Linked DNA regions of Homo sapiens: all the other regions are linked to region 1. Evidence: promoter capture Hi-C in 16 types of primary human blood cells and fetal thymus (Javierre and others, 2016). All regions are on one chromosome and are shown on one strand. Each heading gives the region's core, a stretch centred on a gene start or on the middle of the fragment in contact. The rest is flanking DNA. Distances are from core to core; before and after follow the strand shown. Region 1 holds the start of SQLE (squalene epoxidase). Region 2 overlaps TATDN1 (TatD DNase domain containing 1). Region 3 overlaps MTSS1 (MTSS I-BAR domain containing 1). Region 4 holds the start of LOC105375740 (a long non-coding RNA gene). Region 5 holds the start of LOC124902016 (a long non-coding RNA gene). Region 6 overlaps MTSS1 (MTSS I-BAR domain containing 1). Region 7 overlaps TATDN1 (TatD DNase domain containing 1).

Region 1 (2,700 bases), core at 201-2,700:
CATGTTTTTTTAAACCCTGCCAAGTATCTGATACAGAATTGCAAAGGATGTTCGAGTTCATGAAGAAGTTGCCTTCTCCCCACAGAGGCAGAGTGACTTGTAACATCTGTAAAAGGTCACAGTCTGGTTAGCGGTAGCCAGAATCTGGGTCTCCTAACTCTAGTTGCCTAGTCTTGCTTTTATGCGCCAGTGTCGTTCATCATTCATTAAATACATGTTATGGAGGATAAATTAAGGGCAGAGCATTGTGCTAGGTGCTGTGGGTGATCTTATCAGACACAGATCTTTAGGGAATCTAGAGATTAAAAAGTATGAATAAAGTTATGTGACTTGGTGAAGGTCAATGGCGATTTGGTGGAAGAGGTGACAATGCAGCCACGCTCCAAAAGGCAGAAGGGATTTGCACCTATTATCATAGGGGTTAAAGAAGGAAGTCCAGAGTTAAGAAACAGGATGAGCAAAGACACTGAGGTCTTAAGCCTCAATAAATTTTAGGTAAGTTTCATCGTAGTAGAATAAGGGCTGTCTCACTCCGAGACTTTTGCACACTTTTGCTCCCTCGGACTGCTTGTCCTGGACACCGTGTAACCTCCCCCTGGGCGCCTCACCAGACTTCTCCAGGCCAAGGGAAGGACCACCTCTTGGGTTTCCATGGCTCCCTCTCTAACCACCCCCTTCTCAGGACACCTATGACACGACTATTTGACTTCTTTGCCTCCGAGCCCCCACCCCCAACGTTTCTGGTCTTGAGAGAACGGGCTGGGCGCATCCGTGTATCTCTAGCCTGAGCACCTGGAGCGTCCTCTCCTTTTCTTCTTAAGGCAAAAGCCTACTCATTCTTCCAGCTTCAGCTGGAATGTCAGGCTCTCCACGCACTCATGGCCCTCCCTTCCGCCCTCTCCACATACACAGGGCAGGGAAGCTGTGTCTGATTCCTCTTTCGGACTCCGGGGACTGACATATCATAAGCGCTCAATAAATGCTAGCGGAATGAATGGAAACGTTCCGACCCGAGGCAGCGGATCACTCCAGGCTTCTCCTCAAAGCGAGCACACCTCAGTCCAGGGAGGGCGCAGGAGCTGGGGCTGCTGCGGTGAACCAACCCCAACCCCGACCCCGACGCCGATCCCGGCCCCAGAGCGCCTCCTAGGCGACCCCTGGCCCCACCCACGCCGGAGCCGGCCCGCGCCCATCCCCACGCCCCAACCCGCACCACGCAACATCGCCCTAGCGCCTTTCGGGGCGTCGCCGCGCAGGTTGCGCCGCCTCCGATTGGCCAAACGCGGCATAGCGCCATCTCGGCCTACCGCGCGGTGCGCGCCCTCATTGGCCGGCGGCGGCAGGAGCAGGGGTAGGGGGCGGGGCAGCACGCGGGGCGCGCGGTATGGGCGGACTCGCGCCTGAGCCCCGCCCCCGGTCCCTCGTCTGGGCCGAGCCCGCCCAGCTGGCTGAGACGCGTGGAGCCTGGCGGCGAGTGGGGGCGTGCGACGGTTACTCTGGTTACTGGGGCCGCGCCGCGCTGGCGAGAGCCGCCGCCCGCGAGGGATGCTGGTGAGGAAGCCGTCGGGAGCCGCCGCCGCCATCTGAGGGAGGTACCCTGGAAACCACCTTTTATCGGTGGGGAAGTGCAGTCGCGGTGGGCGGCTCTGGGGGCCAGCGAAACGGGAGGCCTCTAAATCTTTAGGTTGGGGCTGCATTGCCCTGGAGCCGCACTCTTGAGTCCGAGGCCATCTTTTGTTGGAGAAGGCGTCGGCGTTGGCGTTTTCCCGAGGTTGGGCTGTACAGTGTCTCCGTCCGCGGAAAAAGAAGCCTCTGAACCCGCGCCGGCCCGCAGCCCCCGTGCCTTCCGGCCGCTGCTCGCCGTCGCCAGAGGCTAGGCCACGTTTCCCCCAGTGCCGAGGTGTTTCTGTGACCCTCCCTCCACTCCCATTCCCTTCTGAAAGGGCACCTGCTCTTGGTGAGAAAAGAAATTATAGCACGAAGAGCCAGTATCAGAAGAGTATCCATCACCCGCAGCAACCGCTCAGGGAACACCATCAAAAAAGAAAAAAAGGGAATATCTGGATTTCCTGGGCGAGGAGGAGCGAGTCTGCTCGGGAGCTGTTCCAGCAGGCGATTTTTAAATACTGCTTTCTACGCCCTATACAACTTGGCTTCACATACTTTTACACTAACTTTATATGATTTTTAAAAACTGGTCTGATCGGACTTCTCGTCCTGGGACACTGTTTACTGGAGTCTGGCCGGCTCTCCGTGCTCCTCTTGGTACCTCATTTTGGGGAGAACCTTAAACCCACTCGAGCAGATAATCTCCGCCTTGACCGGTGCCACCAAAGAAGCCTTGGAACCATGTGGACTTTTCTGGGCATTGCCACTTTCACCTATTTTTATAAGAAGTTCGGGGACTTCATCACTTTGGCCAACAGGGAGGTCCTGTTGTGCGTGCTGGTGTTCCTCTCGCTGGGCCTGGTGCTCTCCTACCGCTGTCGCCACCGAAACGGGGGTCTCCTCGGGCGCCAGCAGAGCGGCTCCCAGTTCGCCCTCTTCTCGGATATTCTCTCAGGCCTGCCTTTCATTGGCTTCTTCTGGGCCAAATCCCCCCCTGAATCAGAAAATAAGGAGCAGCTCGAGGCCAGGAGGGTAGGTTGATTTCAAAGCGGGCAGATGAATGTCTTATTTAGGAGTAGGATTGGGTTCACT
Region 2 (2,700 bases), core at 35-2,534, 480 kb before region 1:
CTATTGTTTCCAGTCATGATCCATTGTATTGTACCTGAAGCAGTTTTCAGAAAGACTTCTTCAAAATTACTTAATTCATTTTTTTTTTGGTAAAAGAAATATGAGGATACCATTTGTTTGTGCCAAATGCAGTGCATCTTTACTGTCTTGTAGATTTCCACCTGTAATCATAAACTGAAATAGAAAGAAAATAAAATAAGCTGACTTTAATAGGGCAGCAATAACAGTTTCCTAAACATGCCTTCCTACCACTTCCTTATTCCAGAATGCTCTTTCCTCTGTGACTGCCACACACCTACCCTTTAAAATTCAGCTGGGAGATTACCTCCTATGCAGAGTAGTGCCTGACTACACCTCAGGGATGTATGTATGTGTGTGTGCATGTAGAGGTGCAGAATTCATCACTAGACTCTGTTAAAATGTATTTATATACCCACCTTTCCTATTAGACAATGCATTCCTTGAGGACAGAGATCAGGTGTTATGAAAGCGTGAATAACGAAATCAATGATTCAATAGTGTTGATTGATTCAACAGTTCTCCAGGTGTAGTCTGGTAACTCCCAGTAGGTATGTGAAGTCAAAACTATTTTCCTAACAATAATAAGACACTTTCTGTCTTTTTCACTCTCACTCTACTGCAAGTGTCCACAAGGTATTCAAGAAGCTACACGATGTTTGACACCACCAGAGACTGACTACAGAAAAAGATATGAAAATTCAGCAGGCTTCTAGTAACACAGTCATTAGAGATTTGAAAAAACATACAACTGTACTCATGTTGCTAATTTTTTTGTTCTGGAATATACTTATTTTTCATAAAAATATGCTATTTATGTTATCCAGTAGTTTCTTATTTTAAAAGGAATATTTAAAATATTTTGTTTTAATTTTTAATATAGTATGTATCAGTAGGTAAGACTCACACAAACAAAAGCTCTTTGGGGGTCCTCAATAATAAAGAATGTGAAGTGGTTTTGAGAGCAAAAGGTTTGAGAATCAGTGAGTTAATGCATGCTAATGAATTCTCTGTAGGAAAACGTATGGCTTTTGGCAAATAAGCATACTTCTGCATAGACCCATTAGAGTCCGCTCAGTAATTAGAATGCCATCTTTCCTAATCTGTTAAAATGAAAATGTCACTAAAGAGTTATGTGTTGATAGTGAGAGCACTGAAGCAGTGCTGCGTAAGGGGCGCCTTCTTCTGAAGACGTGATTCAAGTATAATGATGTATATTTTTGTAAAGCATACTTCAAAAGTCTCACTAAAATGAATTCATTCTAGGTACAACTTAGGGAGAAAACACAAAACGAAGGTAGAATTGCAAATGATAAATAGATATTTTCATATAGCTATTTAAATCTTTAATATGATTAGCTATTGCATATCCATTCCGGAAACATAGCCATAATTAAATCCTTGACTATCTGTAAAGCAGAAGATGTAAGGCAGGGCGCAGTGGCTCACGCCTATAATCCCAGCACTTTGGGAGGCTGAGGCAGATGGATCACCCGTGGTCAGGAGTTTGAGACCATCCTGGCCAACATGGCGAAACCCCGTCTCTACTGAAAATACAAAAATTAGCCAGGCGTGGTGGCAGGCCCCTGTAGTCCCAGCTACTTGGGAGGCTGAGGCAGGAGAATCACTTGAACCCGGGAGGCAGAGGTTGCAGTGAGCCGAGATCGTGCCACTGCACTCCAGCCTGGGGGACAGAGCGAGACTCGCCTCCAGAAAAAAAAAAAAAGACTAATAAAAATATTGGGAAAACTTTCTTGTTACTAACATACCTAAAACTTTAATACTAGAACAGATGCCTACATCCAGTATTTAAATTACGTAAAATACTAACCAAGTATACTTTTTATTTTACCTACAACTTTACTAAATAGTTGAAAAAAACGGCAAGACAAGAGGGCATCATCTCCTCTCCCAGTGTATAAAATAACGATGATGGGCCTGGCGCGGTGGCTCAAGCCTGTAATCCCAGCACTTTGGGAAGCCAAGGCTGGCAGATCACGAAGTCAGGAGATCGAGACCATCCTGGCCAACGTGGTGAAACCCCGTCTCTACTAAAAATACAAAAAAATTAGCCGGGTGTGGTGGCGGGCGCCTGTAGTCCCAGCTACTCGGGAGGCTGAGGCAGGAGAATGGCGTGAACCCGGGAGGCAGAGCTTGCAGTGAGCCGAGATCATGCCACTGCACTCCAGTCTGGGTGACAGAGCGAGACTCCGTCTCAAAAAAAAAAAAAAAAAAAAAAGATAACGATGATGATGATCTCATGGTGGTGGCTTCCATCATACACATAATGAAGGTTGTTTATGCCAGGTATAATACCAAATGCTTTACACTCAATATTTTATTTAGCCTTCATAACAACTCTATTAATTAAGTACTATTATCATTCTCATTTTACAGATGAGAAAACTGAAGTCTAGTGAGATAAAAGACTCCAGGTTATAAAGCTATGAAAAATGAAGTAGGGGCTGGATACCACGTTTGTTATGCCCTAACTATGCTTTTAACTACTACACTATAAATGCAAGGTATTGAATTAAATTTCAGTTTGGAACCATGTCCAAGTAAAAATCACTTCAGTTCTGTCATTCCTAAGTGTGTGTGTGTGAATAAACATTAAGATTACTCATGGCTAACACATGAAAATTTAGGAGCCTAGTATTTCAGAGTCTGCAGAAAAGCATT
Region 3 (2,700 bases), core at 14-2,513, 410 kb before region 1:
AGGGGGAGGCAGTGTCTTGCTCTGTCACCCAGGCTGGAGTGCAGTGGTGCAATCTCTGCTTACTGCAACCTCTGCCTCCTGGGTTCAAACAATTCTCGTGTCTCAGCCTCCCGAGTAGTTGGGATTACAGGCATGCACCACCACACCTGGATACTTTTTGTATTTTTAGTAGCCATAGGGTTTCACCAAGTTGGCCAGGCTGGTCTCAGACTCCTGGACTCAAGTGATCTGCCCACCTGAGCCTCCTGAAGTGCTGGAATTACAGGTGTGAGCCACTGCACCCGGCCTATGATTTCTTCTTTTTCTTTTTTTTTGTTTTTTGAGATGGAGTCTCACTCTGTCGTCCAGGCTGGAGTACAATGGTGCAATCTTGGCTCACTGCAACCTCTGACTCCCGGGTTCAAGCGATTTTTGTGTCTCAGCCTCCCAAGTAGCTGGGATTACAGGCACCCACCACCATGCTTGGCTAATTTTTGTGTTTTTAGTAGAGATGGGGTTTCAACATGTTGGCCAGGCTGGTCTCAAACTCCTGACCTCAAGTGATCCGCCCGCCTCGGCCTCCCAAAGTGCCGGGATTACAGGTCTGAGCCACCGCGCCCACCCTGTGATTTATTCTTAATTCAGCTGAATACAATTCATGCCACTGAGGGATCAGACTATCAGCTGCTGAATGTTGTTTCACACCAAAGAAACAGCACTCAGCCTCACAACGGGATCACTTTGTTCTCCTCATCCCCTGACACGGACGTGCCTACAGGAGAGTAGGGACAGAGTGGGCCCTTGGCTGTTTTGGTGACACCAATAAACCTAGCAGAGGGGCCAGGCAGCAGCTGGCAACTTCCCACAGCGCCCCCCAGCGTGCAGTGATGCGCTAGACATCTCGCCCCTGTACCTTTTGCGTGGTCTTTATCCAGCTGGTTGGCCACTTTCTTCCATTCTTCCATCTGTTCTTGAAGTGGGTTTATCAGACAATCAATTAAAGCGCTTTTACCAAGCGGGGGGGAAAAAGGGAGAAATTAAATAGATACATTCTGTTGTCAGGATTTAAATGTGGTTGTCAAAACATACCTAAATCACAATTACCCGAAACGTTCTCATCTAAACCCCGGGGCTCCAGAACAGCCATGTTCCAAGAATGCTTTTCTTTTAAGACAGAGTCTCGCTCTGTCACCAGGCTGGAGTGCAGTGGCGCGATCTCGGCTCACTGCAACCACCACCTCCCAGGTTCAAGCGATTCCCCTGCCTCAGCCTCCCAGGTAGCTGGGACTACAGGAACACATCACCATGCCCAACTAATTTTTTGTATTTTAGTAGAGATGGGTTTTCACCATGTTGGCCAGGATGGTCTTGATCTCCTGACCTCATGAGCCGCCTGCCTTGGCCTCCCAAAGTGCTGGGATTACAGGCGAGAGCCACCGCGCCTGGCCCCAAGAATGTTTTTCAATGACTACTAAGAAGCTGTCAATGTGACTGGTGGGAGTGACCCTTCTTCCCATTTTCCCTGTGATATTCTAGTGTTTGTATTAACAAGCCAAGTTGCAGAACCACAGGGGTCACCCCTCTGAGAGCTGCACAACAGGGACCCCCAAAATGCAAAGACACCTGGGCCTTATCTCACCCCCAATGGAGACTTTGAGGGTGGGGCCCAGCATCACTATTTTTAAAAAAGACCCACAAGATTCTGCTGTGCATGCGGCATGACAGGTCATAAATATACACTAAGTATGCACAGCCTGGAGAAAGAGAAGAGTGACGAGACCCAGAAAATTCTCGAGCTGCACTGCCAGCCTCGGGGTTACTGAGGGGTGAAGGTCTCTGAAGGTGTGCCCCTTCATTTTGTGCAGTCTCCCAAACAGAATCACATAAAACTGCTGAATGATGCTGATCTGCTTGGAAAGCAATGTCCATTTTCACTTGAACATTTGTAACCCAATTCCGGTGCCAGCTACTACCATTTCTTCCCTATTCTGGATGCCTGGAAGCCAGATGGGAAGCTGGCGGTGTGGAGTGGTCTGTGAGCTGCCACATCCCTCAGTGAGTCTGGAGGATGCACACAGGATACCAAGGCACATCTCACTCTCCAATTTCACAGCCCCTCTTCTTGCGAGGCTCCCGCAGGGCAGTGGGGGCCCAAAAGACCTCAGCAGGCTGCACCGGCTCCTTGCACAGACAAAGGGTAAGGAGAGACCCATGCAGGAGCACAGGCTCTGTGAAGGCAGGGGCCTGGCTGGCTGGTGATCTGCTGCACCCCCAGGGCCTCGACCAGTGCCTGGTATGCAGCAGATGCCTAACAATACTCAGGCAATGAATGAGCCAAGTCAGACAGATTGTGGGGATTTAAATGCTGTGTGCCACACATGACTGCTTCCTTAACCTGAAATCTGCAAGGGTGTTGGCGATCGGGGCCAAAACATGCTCCTCACCTCGAAAACTGCCTCAGCTTGGCTTCAATGCTTCTGTGCCTCATGCACATCCTGGTGAGAGCAGATCCAATCTCCCTGGTCCCACCTGAAAAAGCAACAGAGGCAAAGGTGAGGGATAGAAGACTAGCAGGGATCATGGAGGTCTTTAGAGAACTTTACAAACAAGTCAGATTTCACCACATTGTAAAATATAAGCCACCATCTTTAGAAGCTTCTCACCATGCCCATGTGTGCATACACACAGGCACATGTAAACATGTATGTACGTATGGTGACA
Region 4 (2,700 bases), core at 171-2,670, 430 kb before region 1:
CAACTCTTCTGCCAACACAACCCTGGAACACAGAGCCAGACAGCATTCTTTCCTTGCAGAACATTCTGAAGAGGCTAAGAGATGTGGAAACAAGGTAAGAGCCTGTGGGTGTTTCCAAAAACGGGCACGGGCTGGCTTTGTTGGGTCAATCTCAATCAAAGAGCCTCTGTCTGGATAGAAGGATCTGCTCCTAAAGACAAAGGTGGCAAGCATCCGCTCTCCTGGCTCTGGGGGCCCATGGGAATCCTTGGCAGTTCCTTTGACTCTCTAGTGGAGAGTCTTGAATGCTCTTGCTGTAGAACAAGCCCAGTAATAACAAGACCTCCAGACAGGTCTCTGATGATGAAAAACTGAAAGTGGGGTCTATGCGGAGCCTGGCCCATGTTTAGGAATTATCTGGCCAGGTCCACAGACCCCAGTTAGGTGCAGGCAACCACTTCTGGAGTTTAAGACAGGGTGTTAGTCTTTTGAATGACTAACACATGGTCAGCAAACCATCTTTGCAAATAAAGTTTTATTAGAACACAGCCAAATCCATTTATTTACCATATTGCCTGTACCAGTTCTCCCTACAATGGCAGAGTAGTGTGACACAGAGTATGGCCCCCAGACCATGGCCTCTTGCAAAAGAAGCCTGCTGCCCTAAAAGATAAACATGGACCAAGAGGCACTGTGTCCAAAGGAGCAGCTACTACAAATCTGATCTGTAGGTGGGGACAGCAGGGTGACAGCAGGGGACACCAGCTCATGAGCTTCCACCTTGGGCTGCCTATGCAGGGGCCTTACCTATCACTCAAACCAGAGAGATACTTCCTAAACTTCTTCAGGGCAGGATTTTGGTCTTTCCCAGCACAGCCCCTAGTACAATGTCATGTGTGTATACAGCAGGTGCTTGATAAATGTCTGTTTAATAGTTTCAACACAAAATGTTAGAGCTGGAAGGGGTTATCCAATTGGGCCAATCTGCTCATGTTTCAATGGAGACCAAGTCCTAGAGAAGTCAAGGGACTCACCTAAGGTCACAGAAAGAATGGTACAGAGGCAGGGTTGAGCCACACTGCCTAATTCCCTTAACACTGAACCTATTCTCTGCCCCACCGCCTCGCAGGAAGGGCCCTGCAGTTTCCATCTATCCCTCTTAGTGATGTAGAGAACATTAAATGCAATGAACCATTTGGTCTGAAGAAAGAAAGGGTCAGGGAAAATTGCCTTGGATGTAGGAACATATTCTGTATTTTTCACTCATAAGCAGAGGAGAAAGTTTAATTTGGAGCAAGAGGCAATCAGGCTTAAAGCACATCCCAATAGAAAAGGTAGTCAGATTTTAGTAAGGAAAAGTCACTTCTCAGACAGGGAATAAGTTCTAAGTTAGCACATTATGAGAAAATTATAGTCAAAGATCACCCTTGAAAATGCCTTAGATGGCCAGTAAATACAGTATGGACAGCTTTGTGTATATAACTCTCATCAGTCAAGTGAGTACAAATGTGTAGATAGTATGTATCTAAGTCCACGGAGGGGTGCTACCCAACGATTATACTACACTGGCCCCTCCTCTGTGGTTTTGCTTTCCAAAGTTTCAGCTACCCATGGTGTGGTAAAATACGGTATTTTGAAAGAGAGAAAGAGACTACATTCGCATGACTTTTATTACAGTATATTGTTATAATTGTTCTATTATTATTGTTGTTAATCTCTTACTGTGCCTAAATTATGTATTAAACTTTACCATAGACATGTATGCATGGGAAAAACCACAGTATATGTAAGGTTCGGGTACTATCTGCAGTTTTAGGCATCCACGGGGGGTCTTGGAACATATCCCCTGAGGAGAAGGGGGAACTACTATATATAAGAAATTTGCTGCTTGAGAAGTCTCTGCATAATTTTCTCCTTTTTGGAGACAGAGTCTTGCTCTGTCACTCAGGCTGGAGTGCAGTGGAATGATCATAGCTCATTGCAGCCTCAGCCTCTTAAGCAGCTGGGACTACCAGCGTGCACCACCATGCCCAGCTAGTTTTTCAATTTTTTTTTATAAAGATTGGGTCTTGCTTTATTGGCCAGACGGTCTTGAACTCCTGGCCTCAAGTGATCCTCCCACCTCAGCCTCCCAAAGTGCTGGGATTACAGACATGAGCCACAGCGCCTGGGTGTTTCAGCATATTTTCAAGGTGACCCACTCACCCATTCTTCCATGTAGTCACTACCTCCACCCCTCAGAATAATTCTTTACCATGCCTTCAATTTCTTCCTCAAGGATGTAGGAGTAATCATCACCATACATTAATCTGGCCACCTGAGCCACTGGTTTCATGTGTTTTTAGTAGACAAGAAACCTGTAAAAACATTCTCCCATTCTCTCCTGGAATCTGCCTCAGGGCAGGTGCTCTGTTCACAGAGACCCACCACCTGTGGCCAACGGCTTACAGAGGGAAGGCTGGGTGCCACCAGCACTATGAAAACTGTGAGTTTTCTCTTCTATTTTAAAATGCTGGCTAGTGCAAAATTAATCCAGATATACTTAATGTGTGTATGATACGAGTCCACCAGCAGGGAAGCTCTGGAAAGCTGTAAACCCTTGCTTTTCCTCTGCAAGCAGCCAAACAGCATGGCCAATTGTGGGCCTTGTTGGGTCACATGACTCAGGGCTGGTCTAGAGGGCTACTTCTAGTCTCTCGATCTATTCTATGATGTTCTAAT
Region 5 (2,700 bases), core at 46-2,545, 390 kb before region 1:
GATCTTGGCTCACTGCAACCTCTGCCTCCTGGGTTCAAGCGATTCTGGGATTACAGGCACCCACAACTACGCCCAGCTAATTTTTGTATTTTTAGTAGAGACGGGGTTTCACCGTGTTGGCCAGGCTGGTCTCAAACTCATGATCTCAAGTGATCCACCTGCCTCAGCCTCCCAAAGTGCCGGGACTACAGGCACAAGCCCCTGCACCCCGCCAAAAGTAGGTATCATTATCCTCATTTTACAGATGAGGCCAAGGGTACTCAGAGAGGTTAAGTAACTTGCCCAAGGTCACACAGAATTCAGAATTTACATCCAGGGCTGAGTCGATAGCTAGAACTTTCAACCACTCCATTCTTGGGGGCATCTCACTGTTGCCAGGACATTACCAACAGAAACATTTGGCAGATAGGGAATTAGGTTTTCTTCCCCCACCCCCGATCCTATAACTGGGAGAAAATAAGAGCCCTTCCCCCGAACATCTGTTTTATCAGCCAGATTCAAACCGTGCTGTCGCCACTTCCTCGCTCAACTGTGTACAGTTGGCCGGTCTGCATCCAAGGCCATGAGTTCAGGGTGGACATGTACTGTCAGGCTTCAGCAGGAATCACCTCCTGCCAGCTTCCTTTGGCAGGGTACACTGCTTATTCATGCAGAGGACCCCTCCTTATTTGCCAGGACAATCTATCCTGAAATCACCCTTTCAGCCACTGACTCCCCTCCGCAACCTGTCTTAGCAGGAGGCATCTTCAGGACAGCTTCCCAGGGATGGCCCTGGGAATCATGCTTAGCTGAATTCAGGATCCTGTTTTCTAGAAACTGACGTTTTAGAAACAGCTTCAGACATAGAAGGAGCTCAACAAACGTGAGTAAGTGGAACCAGGCAGACATGCCAAGCTTCGCGTTCTACGCTCGTAATATTTGCTCTTCCTCGATTCTCTCCTGGCTCCTCCTCATCCCTCTTCCCCATTTTTACTGCACACCTTTACTGAGTTAAAGTTCTAGAGGAAAAGTGGCTGCAACTAAGCCAAGACTCTATCAAAGGCCCTTGAGGGATACAGGCCAGGGACAGAGGATGCATTCTGCAGTTGATTTCCCGGCCAAACTCATCTGGGGTCATTTAAACTAACTCGTATACTATCTTCTTCTCCTCCTCTCTATCTCTTCAATTTCTATCTCAAGTCATACCTTCCCCAGATGGTTTCTGAATGAGTGTCTGGATGGTTTCTGATCTAAACAGAGTTTTTAAAAAAGGAATTGAAATTCTAACCCCGGAATAGCAAACAAGAGGCTGGCTTTTACCATTCAACAGAGAAAGCAAGTATGAGGCTTGCGCAGGAGAGAAAGCAGCACCGTGACACGACCAAAGTGCCCTTGAGTCCCTACAAGCTAGACAAGCCCGAGCCTCCCAGCCTCCATCTATTCAATGGAAGGGCATAACTGGTTTTAGTTTCTAGCTCCCAAATCGAGTCTCAGGTCAAGCAGTGGTAATGTGAATCCAAAAACTATTCTCAGTAGGTCTAAAAGCCTCTTTACTGCTCAGGCTAACTTAAGCACTCACAGTCCTTTGCTTTCTGTTGGAATTATATAAAGCCCGATAAAAATGACCCCAGGTTAACAGTTATTATATATCTCTACAGAAAAGGGGGGGCTTAATTATTACTTAAAAATGTAATTTGTTCGGTAAATAAGATTTTACAAAGCTTGAGGTAGGTCAGTAGAGATTGGTAACGTGGAGAGTCCTCAGTGGTTAGAAGCCACTGCTGGAAGTGGAAGATAAAATGTGTATTCCCAAAACATTTTCCCAGTCTTGCCCAATTACCATGAAAATGGGACATGATTCTAGCACCCTGATGACCTTCTGAGGTTAAACTAAACTGCTCTGTATTAGATGCCCCTCTGAGAGCTGGTCACATCATGTAATGAAGACTTTACTAGATAACTCAAGCCACTCTGGTTCCTCTTCCAGTTCTCCTTCTCCTGCACTGTTTTCTTCCCCACACCCACTTTATTAACTGTGTTCTTCTAACAAAATGCAGATAAGAATAACTACCAATGAATGACTGAAACCTGACTGTGGCTCAGTCATCAGTTAGGAAGTTGCCAGAAGGCAATGGGATTGTGGGACACAGGGGCTGACCACATGTCCCATGGATGAGCACTGGAGCCAGGGTAACATCATGGCCTCGCCTCCTCCAGCAATATCATGGCCTCGCCTCCTCCGACAAGGTCATTGCCCAACTGCAGAGAACCAGTAGGGTCTGGTTTATCGCCACTGTATTGTGCATGTTCAGGTTGCCGACATCTTTTCAAGCAGTGGGCCTGAGTGTTCCTTCCCACTGCCCTGGGGTATGATGGGGGTCCTAATTCCCAACACTTAAGGCCTATGCAAACAGCTGTTTCCTTGTTTTTTATGTTAGTTACTTTTTTAGAATGAGCTCTTCATAGACAAAGGCAAGGATGGTAAATCAGTTTATCTCTTGGGCTAATTCTGATCAGGTGTATGGATGCCTGGGGCACTGTGTGGAGGGTGCTGTGGGCAGCTATGCGCTAGATGGAAAATGGATTGGCTAGATCAGCTAGTAATGTCTGCTACAACCGCAGGACAGTGGAAGGATGCAGACTCTGTATTTGCTACCCTGGGCCTAGGATCTCAAAAGAGAGCTCAAGACACAACTTATTAAACTTCAGTATACACAAGGA
Region 6 (2,700 bases), core at 77-2,576, 450 kb before region 1:
ATGACCTGACTGCTAAGGGACTTGCTTGCTTTCTTAAACACTATTGTCTTCAAATGTGATCCCTTTAAATCTACAAATCTCTGTTGGCTTTAGGGGATGGGCAGTATAACAAATTTAACTTCCACTTAGAAAAGACAAATCTTTTCCAAAAAACATTTACCCAGAATACAAAAAAAGGACAGTATAGTGGTCAGATTCCCAGTGACAATAAACAAATCCTCCTCTCTTCAATGTTTACTGTAAAGCCAGTTAACTGCCATTTATTTGAAAGAAGAAAAGAAAAACAAGCCCCCAGATTGGTAAACACATTGGCAAGTTGCTAGACTCCAAGCTGGCTACCCTTGTCAAATCTGTTCGAGTTTTTTCAAAATACTTGGGCTTTTTAACGCACCCAGCCTGCTGGGCACAGTTAAGTAAAAGGCATTTACTATAATCTAAGAATTCCCTGCTATTATCATTTTTAAATGTTTTCACATTTTTAAAACTGCCTTACCCTTTTGGATGTATTTGGATTCCATAAAGGTGAGTACAATCAACGAGAAACTGAAGTGGGAGATTCTACGACTGCCCAGAGGCAGCAGCATGCATGGGGCTGGTTGTGGGTGCTGTGTGCAGTCCAGAGGAATCATGGGAGAAAGGAAGTCAAGTCCTTAAACACCCTACAGAAACAAACACTGCAATCCAGTATGGCTTATTCGGATGCATTTACCATGAAGCTACCAGAAGAAATTCAACCTACGAGGCTACTCTTAAATGTAACAGGATCGGCTATGTTGACGATGTACCCCTCCCATGGCCCTCCCCCCAATCCCAACACAGTCTACCATTTCCAGATTTACTTCACTCTGAATATTGCTCATCAATTGTTACTCCTGCTCTTTTCATCCAGAACATAGTATATTTAAATGAAGATTTTACCTCTTACCCATTTAGTTTGTACATTAAAATAACTTGCATTTGCTTCTAAGCTAGACTACTACAATGCATCTACAAAAGCTTGTGGGGAAAAAAAAAGAAGAGTGAAGTATAGTAAATCCTTTTCTAAAATTAACTACTTCGTGGTTCCCCTGCCCCAACCCCCTTTATGCATTTAAAATTTTACAAAGACTTGTAAAAAAGTTAAATGGAATTTGGCACCTTCAGAAAAATCAAAAGGGAAACTAAGATTAAAATGTGCAGAAAGAAAATTGTCAATATTTACAAATTAAAAGATCAAGATTATGTCAGTTACATAGGTTGGTTTTAATTCTTATCTAAAGGTGTCGAGTACTTTCAAAAGAGCTATATTCCGAGTTGCCTACAAAATCTTTTGTTTTATTATAGAGTGGAATGGATCAAGACAAATTAGGTTTTATTAATGAAACAGTTCATTCCCCACCGGCGCATTTCTTGTGAACCTAAGAAAAGCGAGGGGCTGAGCGATCGTTTGTCGTGGTCTTCTTCAGTTTCACGCCCCTTCGGATGGCGTTCAGCATGTCTTCTCCTTGTGGAGTATCCCTTGGGCTCAGGTCTGCAGGGTCACTCTCTGGAATCTGGCCTGGGGAGACAGTGGCACTTGGGGGTTCCCGTTCCTGGTCTTCAGCTTCACTTTCTGGAATTGCCTGTCTGTGCTCCTCAGGGATACTGGGCTTCGGGCCTGGAAGTGGAGGGTTAACGGAAGCTTGGCCGCTCCACATTGAGGAGGGCATGCTGGTGACACCTTGGGGGCCCTCACCCACAGATGGCGACTCAGGGCTGTGCTCCCCCCGCTCTTCTGGCCCATCTGGAGGGGCTGGCAACACCCCTGGGAGGTCTGGGACGGTTGGGGTCTTGACAGGGATCACGGGTGTCTTGATGGGGATGGGACCAGCTCCAATGGTTCCCCGGCGGACAGAAGGCTTGGTGGAAGGGGTCCGTCGGATAGTTGCAACCCCTGGAGTGACCATAGCAGGTCCCAGGGTGGTGGGGAGGCCAGCAGTTGAGGCTGGACGCTTGGCTTGGAACATCCGTCGGTAGGACTGGCTGATGTCGCTGTTTCTTGGAATGGTGGAGGACTTGTCGAACTCCTGCTGATCTGCCTCCTGGTCACCACTTACAGAGAAATAATCATAATCTGAAACTGATTATAGGATTTGATTAGACATATTCAAGACAGCAGCTGTGCTTTTTTGATTCTTCTGGGCTGGGAGGACAAAAGGCACGCAAGGCAGGGTACACACACAGTCTCATCCCAAGCTTCCCCCAGGCTTCTCTACCATCTTCAGAAAGCCTCACCAACTAAGAACTCCGTGGCAGGGATCTTTGCTTTGTTCACTGATGTGTCCCAAGTACCTAGAACAGTGCTGGACACGGTAGGCACTCAAATATCGTCAATGGGGAAGAAGGTAAAGCTGCTAGGCTGCAGCGAAGCTACCTGCAAGCGTCTCTGGGAGGAATAAGGGGGATGAAAGAAGACAAATTCTCCAGTCCAGAACTCAACGTGAAGATCAAACCTCAAATAGACTAGCCTAGGCTATAACATCTCCCTGATAATTAACTGGAGAGGCAAGGGCTAGACAAAGAACAAAGCTACTGACAGTGAGTCCCTGACAATAAGGGACAAAGACAGTTTCCATCAGTGTCATGTGCTCACTTCCTTGTAAGACCAATCTCAGGATGATGTGGGAGCTTACAGATTAAACAGCTCACAGCCCTGATTCTGAACCACCGTACTATTGATAA
Region 7 (2,700 bases), core at 130-2,629, 500 kb before region 1:
ATTTGAAAATAAGAATATAAACATCCACTTTAATAAATGACTAACCTATTAATTCTGAAGCTAATATTAATGTAGGAGAAAAGAATCTTTTGTGATTAGCTTAAACTAACATCCTAATGAACTCAAGATCATTTAGAAATATCTAAGACAGGAGCCAGGTACGGTGGCTCATGCCTGTAATCCAAGCACTCTGGGAGGCAGAGGCAGGTGGATAGCTTGAGCTCAGAAGTTTGAGACCAGCCTGGGCAACATGGTGAAACCCCATCTCTACAAAAAGTACAGACATTAGCCAAGCATGGTGATAGGAGCTTGTGGTCTCAGCTATTATACTTGGGAGGATCGCCTGAGCCCAGGAGGTCGGGGCTACAGTAAGTCGTCCAGCCTGAGAGGCAGAGTGAGACCCTGTCTCAAAAAAAAAAAACAACAACTAAGAATTATGGTTTTAAGTTGGTAAAATAAAGATCTTCTACCCCCTTCTCTTAAAAAAAAAAAAACAAAACCAAACTTACAGGGAGAAAACCAGGATTTTTTTAAATGAAACTAGGAGACATATGTTACCCCAAATCACAACATATAGCTGAAAGTGGACAGAGAAATGATAAAAGACCAGTGTTTAAGTGCCAAGTAACTTAAATGCTATGTGCCTGGAAAGAAAGACAAACAAACCTAGAAGTAGATACAGTCCCTAGAAAGTGGAGTAAGGCAGGGACTGAAATGGAGATTCTTTGAGAAAACTCCAAGAGAAGATGGGGTTCCTAGGTTATGTATCTGTGACTTGGTGCAGAGAAAGAGGTGCTGGGTCTCAAGACAATCCACATCAGAAACAGCTGGAGAACAACAAGCACAGAGGAGTACAGGCGTCAGGCACAGGCCTGAGCATGGAGACTGGGGCAGCCCACTAAACAGTGAGATCCTCTAACCCATCCTGCTCCAAAATACTGTCAGGGACATTTACAAACCCCTTCCCTCCACTGTTCCCCACTTTTCCAGCAGAGAACACAGGATCCCTTTCTGGAGAAACTGAACCAACCCAGAAAAAGATCTCTACAAACTGACATTTGGGAATCCCTAGCAAAAAGTCAGTTGGCCATCTGAGCCTGCCAGTTGCTGGAATGCCTTCTAGAGAGCTTCCAAATGGCTTTTTTTTTTCTTTTTTTAAATAGACAGTGAAGGACTGCCTGACATTTGAAGAAAGTTTCCATCATCACAGAGACCAAAGGAAAGAAGAAAAGGTGACTGTGAGGAAACAAATGCAGGAAGACAAGCAGAAAGTAACTTTAAACTATAATTCATGTCTTTAGAGAGATGAGAAGACACTGCAGTATAAAAATAGAGTATTCAGAAATTGAAAACAAAAGTTGAAGTAAATTTCATAAAAAGGGTTACAAAATATAGCACTTTTTTTGGAAGGAGGGAAACAATGGAAATAGAATAAAAAGAATACGAGTTATCAGTCTAGTATGCCCAAGAAAAGAACAGAAGAGAAAAATCAAATTCCAAGGACGGGTAAAGATGTGCCCCCCACTGGAAGGGCTAATGAAAAAGCAACACCAGGCGTGATGAAAACCATCAACACACACCTTCGTGAAATTTCACATCAGAGATGAAAAACTAAAACCTTTCACAAGAGAAGAAAACTAGGTCACAGGTAAAGGATTAGGAATCAGAGTAGCAACTTTTCATCAACACTGGAACCTACTGATGGGACAGTATAAATTCTCAATGAAAATGATTTCTGATCTTGAATTTTATTCAAGAGAACTATCCATTGAAAGTGGGGGGCTGGGTGTGGTGGCTCACACCTGTAATCCCAGCACTTTGGGAGGCCGAGACGGGCAGATCACGAGGTCAGGAGGTCGAGACCATCCCGGCTAACACAGTGAATCCCTGTCTCTACTAAAAATACAAAAACAAAAAAAATAGCCAGGTGTAGTGGCGGGCACCTGTAATCCCAGCTACTCGGGAAGCTGAGGCAGGAGAATGGCGTGAACCCGGGAGGCGGAGCCTGCAGTGAGCCAAGATCGCGCCACTGCACTCCAGCCTGGGCGACTGAGTGAGAGTCCCTCTCAAAAAAAAAAAAAAAAAAGTGGGGTTCTCTCCCCTTTCATTAACTATCCAGGCTAACTTGTAAGAGGAAGAGCAGAAAAAAAATTCATTTTCAAAATGGGAAGATGTATTTCAAACTTGACTTCAGAATCGTGTAGTTGCTCATCACTAAATGGGAAACCTTATTAAATAGAAATACTGGCTTGTATTTAAAAGAAACTTAATTCCCATGAAAACATCCTCAGAGGATGTTATAGAATGTGTTCCACTAAAACAAACACGCAAGGAATACATGGGATCTAAAAATAGGAACTAGTCCAAATTGAAACACATGGAAGGGTCTGCAACTGACGGAACTATTAGATTATCTACATAGGTTTGCTCATGTGGTATACTGTGCTTAACATTTCTTTTCTTGTACTACTTTTTGTTTTCCTGGATTAACCTCCCTCATATTTTTATTTACTTGGCTTTCTTAAACTTGAAGCCCAGCCTGGGCACATAGCAAGACCCTGTCTCAACTAAAAATTTAAAAAATAGCCAGGTGTGGTGGCATGCACCAGTAATACCAGCTACTCAGGAGGCTGAGGTGGGAGGGTTGCTTGAGCCTGGGAGGTCAAGGCTGCAGAGTTGTGATCACGCCACTGCATTCCA

What was found. The method cuts DNA at HindIII sites, captures the fragments that hold promoters and counts their contacts. A CHiCAGO score of 5 or more calls a contact.
Region 2: a contact is called between a fragment that was not itself captured here and the fragment with the promoter of SQLE in region 1, in 9 of 17 cell types (erythroblasts, naive B cells, total B cells and 6 more). The highest score is 12.7, in erythroblasts.
Region 3: a fragment that was not itself captured here is called in contact with the fragment with the promoter of SQLE in region 1 in 16 of 17 cell types (megakaryocytes, naive B cells, erythroblasts and 13 more); the score reaches 27.5 in megakaryocytes.
Region 4: a fragment that was not itself captured here is called in contact with the fragment with the promoter of SQLE in region 1 in 16 of 17 cell types (erythroblasts, megakaryocytes, naive B cells and 13 more); the score reaches 26.6 in erythroblasts.
Region 5: a contact is called between a fragment that was not itself captured here and the fragment with the promoter of SQLE in region 1, in 10 of 17 cell types (megakaryocytes, total B cells, M1 macrophages and 7 more). The highest score is 12.3, in megakaryocytes.
Region 6: a contact is called between a fragment that was not itself captured here and the fragment with the promoter of SQLE in region 1, in 16 of 17 cell types (erythroblasts, megakaryocytes, naive B cells and 13 more). The highest score is 22.0, in erythroblasts.
Region 7: a contact is called between a fragment that was not itself captured here and the fragment with the promoter of SQLE in region 1, in 3 of 17 cell types (naive B cells, total B cells and erythroblasts). The highest score is 6.2, in naive B cells.

What each region holds. Positions count from the first base shown.
Region 1 is chr8:124,997,055-124,999,754 of GRCh38, forward strand. It overlaps SQLE (squalene epoxidase), which reads left to right and starts at 1,451. Exons shown (of 11, transcript NM_003129.4): 1 at 1,451-2,640. The coding sequence starts at 2,350. SQLE-DT (SQLE divergent transcript) reads right to left here and starts at 1,144. Exons shown (of 2, transcript NR_134457.1): 1 at 909-1,144; 2 at 1-106. RefSeq lists enhancers at 772-831, 1,762-1,811 and a silencer at 1,052-1,551. The HindIII fragment of the contact is 7,996 bases long and covers 1-2,700 here.
Region 2 is chr8:124,518,708-124,521,407 of GRCh38, forward strand. It overlaps TATDN1 (TatD DNase domain containing 1), which reads right to left. Exons shown (of 12, transcript NM_032026.4): 4 at 111-174. Among named protein-coding and RNA genes, the nearest start is that of MIR6844, 11 kb to the left of the region's middle. The HindIII fragment of the contact is 6,152 bases long and covers 1-2,700 here.
Region 3 is chr8:124,588,728-124,591,427 of GRCh38, forward strand. It overlaps MTSS1 (MTSS I-BAR domain containing 1), which reads right to left. Exons shown (of 14, transcript NM_014751.6): 4 at 2,424-2,508; 5 at 893-984. Among named protein-coding and RNA genes, the nearest start is that of NDUFB9, 51 kb to the left of the region's middle. The HindIII fragment of the contact is 2,738 bases long and covers 1-2,632 here.
Region 4 is chr8:124,568,821-124,571,520 of GRCh38, forward strand. The region is part of intron 6 of MTSS1 (MTSS I-BAR domain containing 1); the gene reads right to left. It overlaps LOC105375740 (a long non-coding RNA gene), which reads left to right and starts at 63. Exons shown (of 2, transcript XR_928608.3): 1 at 63-94. The HindIII fragment of the contact is 8,842 bases long and covers 1-2,700 here.
Region 5 is chr8:124,606,236-124,608,935 of GRCh38, forward strand. All of the region lies in intron 3 of MTSS1 (MTSS I-BAR domain containing 1), which reads right to left. It overlaps LOC124902016 (a long non-coding RNA gene), which reads left to right and starts at 502. Exons shown (of 2, transcript XR_007061088.1): 1 at 502-862. RefSeq lists an enhancer at 1,098-1,447. The HindIII fragment of the contact is 806 bases long and covers 893-1,698 here.
Region 6 is chr8:124,551,595-124,554,294 of GRCh38, forward strand. It overlaps MTSS1 (MTSS I-BAR domain containing 1), which reads right to left. Exons shown (of 14, transcript NM_014751.6): 14 at 1-2,098. The coding sequence ends at 1,398. Among named protein-coding and RNA genes, the nearest start is that of NDUFB9, 14 kb to the left of the region's middle. The HindIII fragment of the contact is 664 bases long and covers 995-1,658 here.
Region 7 is chr8:124,500,273-124,502,972 of GRCh38, forward strand. All of the region lies in intron 9 of TATDN1 (TatD DNase domain containing 1), which reads right to left. Among named protein-coding and RNA genes, the nearest start is that of MIR6844, 7.0 kb to the right of the region's middle. The HindIII fragment of the contact is 6,052 bases long and covers 1-2,700 here.